2 separate regions of the Homo sapiens genome follow, and region 1 is linked to region 2. The links are contacts of gene promoters, found by promoter capture Hi-C in human tissues and cell types (Jung and others, 2019). All regions are on one chromosome and are shown on one strand. The core of a region is centred on a gene start or on the middle of the fragment in contact, and the rest is flanking DNA. Distances in the headings are between cores, read along the strand shown.

The links. Contacts are between HindIII fragments. The study calls those that stand out against the background at their distance.
Region 1: a fragment that was not itself captured here is called in contact with the fragment with the promoter of INSC in region 2 in 1 of the 25 tissues and cell types used here (aorta).

What each region holds. Positions count from the first base shown.
Region 1 is chr11:14,322,944-14,326,572 of GRCh38, forward strand. All of the region lies in intron 1 of RRAS2 (RAS related 2), which reads right to left. Among named protein-coding and RNA genes, the nearest start is that of RRAS2, 34 kb to the right of the region's middle. RefSeq lists an enhancer at 367-446. The HindIII fragment of the contact is 4,046 bases long and covers 1-3,542 here.
Region 2 is chr11:15,113,086-15,116,793 of GRCh38, forward strand. INSC (INSC spindle orientation adaptor protein) reads left to right here and starts at 1,838. Exons shown (of 13, transcript NM_001042536.3): 1 at 1,838-1,918. RefSeq lists enhancers at 311-360, 1,012-1,545. The HindIII fragment of the contact is 4,237 bases long and covers 1-3,198 here.

The DNA.
Region 1 (3,629 bases), core at 270-2,769, 790 kb before region 2:
AACCTAATGGTAAAAATTCAATAGATGGACTAAAAAGCGTATCTCTTCAAACACTGCTAAGGAGAACTAAAGGACAGACTATAGTGAACATAACTACAGCTAGAGGAGACATTTAAAAGAGAATACTATGAACAACTTTATGCAATAAATATGAAGCACAGACAAAATGGACATACGCCTAGAAAAATACAAACTCAAAATTGATTCAAGAATAATTAGAAGGCTGGGTACAGTGGCTCACACCTGTAATGCCAACACTTTGGGAGGCTGAGATGAGAGGATCACTTAAGCCCAGGAGTTTGAGATCAACCTGGGCAACATAGTGAGACTTCATCTCTACAAAAACAAAACAACAACAAAAAAACTAGGCCAAGCATAGCGGCATGCGCCTATAGTCCCAACAGCTTGGAAGGCTAAGGTAGGAGGATTGCTTGAGCCTGGGAGGTGGATGGTGCAGCAAAGTGAGATCACACCACTGCACTCCGACCTGGGTGACAGAGCGAGACCCTGTCTCAAAAAAAAAAGGATAATCAGAAAGCCTGAACAGCACTATGACTAATAAAGGAAGAAAAAATAAAATAAACTTCCCCCTCTTCCCCCCACCGGCACACACACAAACTAGGTCTAAAAGTTGTAAAAGCAAGGTCTACCAAACTTTCAGGAAACAAGTAAATCCAGTATCACACAAATTCTTCCAGAGAATAGAAAAGGAGGAAATACACCCCCCAAGTCATTTTATGAGGCCAGTATAATCTGGATACCAAAACCAGACAAGAACATTATTAAAAAATGAAAATTACAGGCCAATTTCACTAATAAACATACATGAAAAGAGTCCATATGCAAAATATTAACAAACAGAATCCAGAATCCAACAGTATATAAAAATATACATTATGACCAATATGTCCCAGAAATTCAGGAACAGAATATATAGACTTTTTTAAAATTATAAATATAATTCACCATATGAACAGACTAAAGAAAAACACTATAAGAGATATGGAAAAAGGATAAGAAAATGTCACATTTGTCTTAAAAAAAAAAAAACTATAGCAAACAACACTTTTTACAGTGAAACTCATTAAAATCAAGAACAAGTATGTATGTCTACTATTACCATATTTATTCAACATTACATTGGAGGTCCTAGTTAATTTAATAAGAAAATAAAGTGGTATACAAATTTTTAAGAATATATTTGATATGATTATCTGCACAGGAAACAATATACATAATAATTATTGGAATTAGAATTCAGCAAGGTATTTGGATATAAAAGTCTACATAGTCCCCTCAACCTGTCGAAAAAATAAACAGCAAAAAAAAATACCACTTCTGTATAAAGCTATTAGAAAGCTTAAGTCAAATAAAAGACACCATTTACAACAGCAACAGCAAATATATGATATGCAGGACTAACTCTAGTAAAAATATATTCTAGACCTTTAGGGAAAGAAATAATTAAGCTTTAAACAGAGGCCAAAAAAAAAAAAAAAAAGGAAAACGTATATGAGTGTAAAAGCATTCTCTTCATGGATAGAATTGTCAAGGTATCAGTGCTCCCTTAACTGACCCAATTTAAATTTGTTTTAACATTACTGGGTTTTTCATAGAATTTGACAAGCTGAACCTAAAATTTATAAGCAAGAAAATAGCCAAGAAATTGTTTATAAGTGTAAGAGTCATGAGAATTTTTTTGTTTTGCTCAATGCCATTTTCCCAGCACCTAAAAAGTTCCTGGCACATAGCAGTTGTCTCCAATATATGTGCTGAATGAATTTTTGAATGAACACAGCAGGGAAACTTATCCTACCCTCTACGAAATTTAGAATGGAAATGACACAAGAATAGGCAAAAAAGACAAATGGAACAAAACAGAAGGCCTAAAAATAAATCCACATGAATGAAATTCGATATATAAATAGAAGAGCAGATCATAGGGGAAGCATAGAACAGTACTCAAAAAGTGATGCTGGGATAACTAGTTTATGCATGTGGAAAAAAGCGAGATTGAGGGGAGAGATTATAAAGGGTTCATAAATCTCTAAGCACAGCCTGTATTATCTCTAGATTCTTCCTAGCAAAGCCTCACAAGTTTTACATTAAGATGCTATTCTAATTGAGAAAATATATAGTACCTCACCTGGAATGGTAATGCACAATAATATAAACACTTACTGCATGTTAGCTATCATCGTATCTGAGCCCTCAAACTTACCCTGATGTGAAGCCTTGCTTCACCACTTCCCAGCTTTGTCATTGGAGAAGTTACTTGAATTCACCTTGTCTTACCACAAAATGAGCTTGCACTAGCACTTACCTCAGCAAGAGTACTGTTGGGAGTTTCTTTTAATCCTTTTAGTATTTTTTTTTTTTTTTTTTTGAGACAGAGTCTCGCTCTGTCGCCCACGCTGGAGTGCAGTGGCGCGATCTTGGCTCACTGCAAGCTCTGCCTCCCGGGTTCATGCCATTCTCCTGCCTCAGCCTCCTGGGACTACAGGCGCCTGCCACGACGCCTGGCTTTTTGTATTTTTAGCAGAGAGGGGGTTTCACCTTGTTAGCCAGAATGGTCTCGATCTCCTGACCTCGTGATCCTCCCGCCTTGGCCTCCCAAAGTGCTGGGATTACAGGCGTGAGCCACCGTGCCCGGCTTCCTTTCAATATTTTTATTTTAGAATGGCATTAAGTTTGTAGATTAACAATTAGAATTGACACTGTTAAGAATCTGAATTTTCAGATCTGGAAATATAGTATGCTTTTCTGTTTAAGTCTTTGTCTTAAAAAAATTTAATGTTTGCTTTAAAATTTTGTATGGAAGACTGTAAAAAAAAATTTAACACACATTTTTTAAGTGTGTAGAAGTAGTCTTTTTGTTTGCTATTCTAAAAGGGGTGTCTTCTTCCATTGTATCTTCTACTTGATTTGTAAAAACTCTAAGTATTACATAAAATACTGTCCAATTGTGGAATGCAGTAGAGGCTGGGGAATGAGCAGCAACTGATAGCATTTTGAAGGAGGATCAAGTCTGGAATCTCACTATGCTTCTCTCATCTCCTTCCTTGAATTTAAGATGTTTTTTAAGAATATTACAGAATAGCATTCAGCAAAACATGGACGTGTACTAGAACCCCTTTGAGAGAACTTGGTTTTTTATTCTTGAATGGTGCTAAAAAGTGACCTTATTATCCCATAGCATGGAATCCAAAAATAGTAGTAAAGAAGGCTTCCACAGAATATGTGCAAATCTGAAAATCTCAGGGCATGTACCTAATGCTATATTTATTTTTCACAAAACCGGAAATAGTGACAGCTTAAAACAAGTAACTAGACTGTTATATAGCTTTTAAAATGCTGCTGCTATTGTGTAATTTTTAGCATTTTGTATATTGAATTTCTATGCCAGGAAGTATGCCACTGTTAACTATTTTACATGATGCCTAAATTTTATTTTAAATAAAAAGTTATCACACATATCAAACTCAACTACACAAATTGTTATACTAAAACATTTCAGGAAATATGTGCTTTCTAACGCTAATGAAGTTTTAGAAAAGATTGTAAATATACAAACATAAAATAAACAAGTATCACCAATTCTGAAATTTGTTAAATCAGTAAAAGAATTT
Region 2 (3,708 bases), core at 588-3,087:
TCCTTCCTTCCTCTTTCTTTCTTTTCTCTCTCTCTCTTTCTTTCTTTCTTTCTTTCTTTCTGTCTCTCTCTCTCTCTCTTTCTTTTTTGATGCAATCTCACTCTGTTGCCAGGCTGATGTGCAGTGGCACAATCTTGGCTCACTGGCTCACTGCAACCTCCGACTCATTGGTTCAAGCTATTCTCTTGCCTCAGCCTCCTGAGTAGCTGGGGTAACAGGCACATGACAACTCGCCCAGTTAATTTTTGTATTATTAGTAGAGATGGGGTTTCACCATGTCGGCCAGGATGGACTTAATCTCCGGACTTTGTGATCTATCCACCTTGGCCTCCCAAAGAGCTGGGATTACAGGCGTGAGCCACCACTCCCGGCTGAGACTATTCTTATCATACCACCTGCCCTACCGGAAACAGACTCAGAGAGAAGATTCTGCAAACAGTCTGTAAGACTGTGGTTTCAGTGGTAATGCCCAGCCAGGCGGCACCAAGCCCTGTCCCCAGCCCTAGACAGCACTTGTTGAAACAGGAACTGAGGCCCCTCTCAGGGAACTTGGGGAGTAGAATCAGGCTGTTCTGGATGACTGGAGGGTAGAGTTGAAGCTGGCTTGTCTGAGAGGAATGATTTGGCCACCTTCTGAGCCCTGGGCCCCCAGAGAGCTGAGGAGGAGAGTTAATATCAGAGAGCTACTGTGTGTGTTCGAGTCCAGGGAGCAGCAGTTAGCTTCAGCCAGAGCCTGAAAAAAGAAATAGAGATTATTAGCATTAAGGAAGAGAAGGCTGCAGTGGGACCTCGGCGTGGTCGTTTTGTCATGGGGACTGAGTTGAGCTCCTTCTCCCTGAATACATATTGTGAGCAAATTGACATAGTTTGCATGTGAGAGATTTAGGTTAGATGTCAAGGAGATCTTTCTGTCAGTAAGAGAGTTCAAGCTTTGGAACAGGGCTCAAGGGAGACCAGGGGCTGCCTTTGCTTGAGGACCTCCAAGAATAGGTCAAGATTCTCTGGGCTCTGGGAGCCTCATAGCAAGATGGCGGAGGCGGGGGAGGGGGAGTTGTATGAAATGATCTGGAAGCTTTCTTCCAGGTCAAAAATGCCACATTCCCGAGCTTTTGGGTAGGAATCAAGTTCCTCTAGATTTAGCTATTTGACAGAGTCCAGGACGGGGGTGGGGGGTGGGGGGTGGGGTCTGATCTTATGTGCCGAAGTTAGAAGGAGTTTCTGCAACAACCCCTCGTCATTTTTGGCAGGTCCAAGATGTGGAGGGTGACTTAGGTGTGTGTGAGCAAGGTTCCAGAGGGAAGCACCTGCGGTGAATAAACCGTCTCATTCTAGGCGTTTGGGGTCTATCAAAGCTGGGTGGCTTCCTCCTTCCTAGCAAGTGAACTGCACCCAAATCCCTCCTTGTTTTGTTTCAGCTCCAAGGGAAACGATCGCGGCACATTCCCTTCCCCTCTCCAGATGTTGGCATGCGGGGCACCTTGTGGGCGACCCCGCCTGGACGGCTTCGCGGCTCCCGGGCGATCACCCTGGTGCCTGCCGCCTGGCCCGGGGGAGCCCGGTCTCTAATTAGGCCTGACCGCGTCCCCATTCCAGCGCTCCTGCAGATGGGAGGGAGGGCCATGTTTCCCCCCCCAGGGGCACCGAAATAGCCTCGTAGTCCCGCGGAGACAGCAGGCAGCCGTGGCTGACGCGGGACCAAGGCTTGGCAGGGAGCGCGCTGCTGTGGAAGGTCCTTGGGAGGCTGCGACCGCCTCGGAGAGGGCGGGCGGGGGAGAACGGGGCGGGGGGTGGGGCGGGGGCCAGGGGCGGCCTCTCGGGCTGGGCCGGCAGAGCGGCCACTTTGCGCGCGGCCTCTGGAGCTCCAGCTGCGCCCCGCCACCACTGGCCGCTCGCACTACCAGCCTGTCTCGCACGCTAAGTAAGTAGACAGCTCCCCTAGCTGGATTCAGGGGGCTGGTGATGCCTCTGCTAGCCTAGTTGGGAACAGTGCAGGTTTGTCACTAATTGGATAGTAGGTGTAAGTGTGTCAGTGGGAGTGCTTGTGAAGGGGAGCTTGCGCCAGTGTGAGGGAGTGTGTCTGGATGGGATGTCCACATGTGGAATTTTCTAGCATGTGCCCCAGGGTGCGAGTGTGGGTGAACGAGTGTGTCAGAGTGTGTGGTGGCCTGGAGTGGGCCACAGGTATTTGCCTGTGTGGCACCTGCTGCCCTGGGTGCACTGTGTCTGTACCTGTGGAAATGCCTGTGTGTGTGGCAGGAAGGCCCCCAGGTGGGCTGAGCCAGTCCACATGTGGATGAGTGGATGTGCCAGTGTGAACCCAGGAAGGCAGAAATTGGGGCTAGGGAGTGTTATCTGAACTCAGGCTTTCTAAGGTGACCTGACTTGTCCCAGCTGGGGTGTCTTCTCTGTGGGTCATTCAGCTTTGGTTTCTCAGGGCTTGGAGAAGGACAGAAGCTCAGAGCCCTCACACAACACTGGAGTGAATGTGGCTCTGACTAACCCCATCTGGCTAGACCAGGGTCAGGGAGACAGCTTGGGAGACCCCACTCTTAAACCAGGAGAAGAGACAGGAGGCCAGGGGATGAGTGGACCATATGGCCATGGCCACCCACAAACACTCGCAGTGCACCCACGCTTACATGCTCAGCATACACACATTCCTGTCCATGTGCACCAGTCTTGCACACACTCTTCTCAGGATAGCCATGCAACCATTCACACTTTCAACATGTATACCTGTGGACAACGACATGTATGCAACATGCACCCACTTTGTTCAATGCATATGCGCAAATGTATCCCTGGTGTGGCCCCACCCTCAGCCGCTAGCCTCCTCCCACTTTTGCCCCTTTTAATCTATATATTATACCTCTGACAATGGGTCCAAGAAACTGGCCTCAGTGGGGAATATTTTAAGTCAGGGACTTTGGCTGTGGGGGTCAGGGCAGATGGTGATGTGGTGCCTTTGAGGGGTTCCATTGAATCTGAAACTGAGGCTGTCCATGGAGCTCAGCCAGAGAGCATCTTGTCCCTTTAGCTCTGGGACTTAGAAGCACTGTTCGCCCTTTTAGAAGTGAAAACTTCCAAACACTGCCTTTGGAAGGCAAGCCAGGTCAGGCTGGGATCTGACATGGAGCTCAGCATATATAATTTGCTCCATGCTGTAGTTTATACTCTGGATTACACTTGCTGCAGAGAAGCAGTGACCTTTCTGGGTTGGGTCCCAAGGCAACCATTTGGCAGGGAGGACAGTGAATTGAGCTGGGTTGATTCTTTCTCTTCTTTGGTTTCGTTCAACCCTACTTTGAGTCTCCCTCCCACAGGCTGGTGGAGGGATGGCATTTGCTCTGCTCCTTTCCTTTCTTCCAGTGGTTATCTTTTTTTCTGGACAGAATCTTCTCCATGACCTCCTCCCCCTGGTGACCACTGGGCACACACTATACAGCGCTTGGAAGAGTAGGTGCCCTAAAATACCAGCTGAGTGGTGGTGTTATTCTTCTTAGTAGAGCTTCTAGACCTGTCCCATCCTGGCTATTCTCTTCTGAATACTTCAGTGAGGTACCCAGACTAAATGTGCTCTTTCAGCTGGGAAGTTAGAAAGATGGTATTGAGCTTCCTTCCTTCCCTTCCTTTCTTCCTTCCTTCTCTTTCTCTCTTTTCCTTCCTTCCTTCCTTCCATTCTTTCTTTTTTTCTTCCTTCCTTTCTTT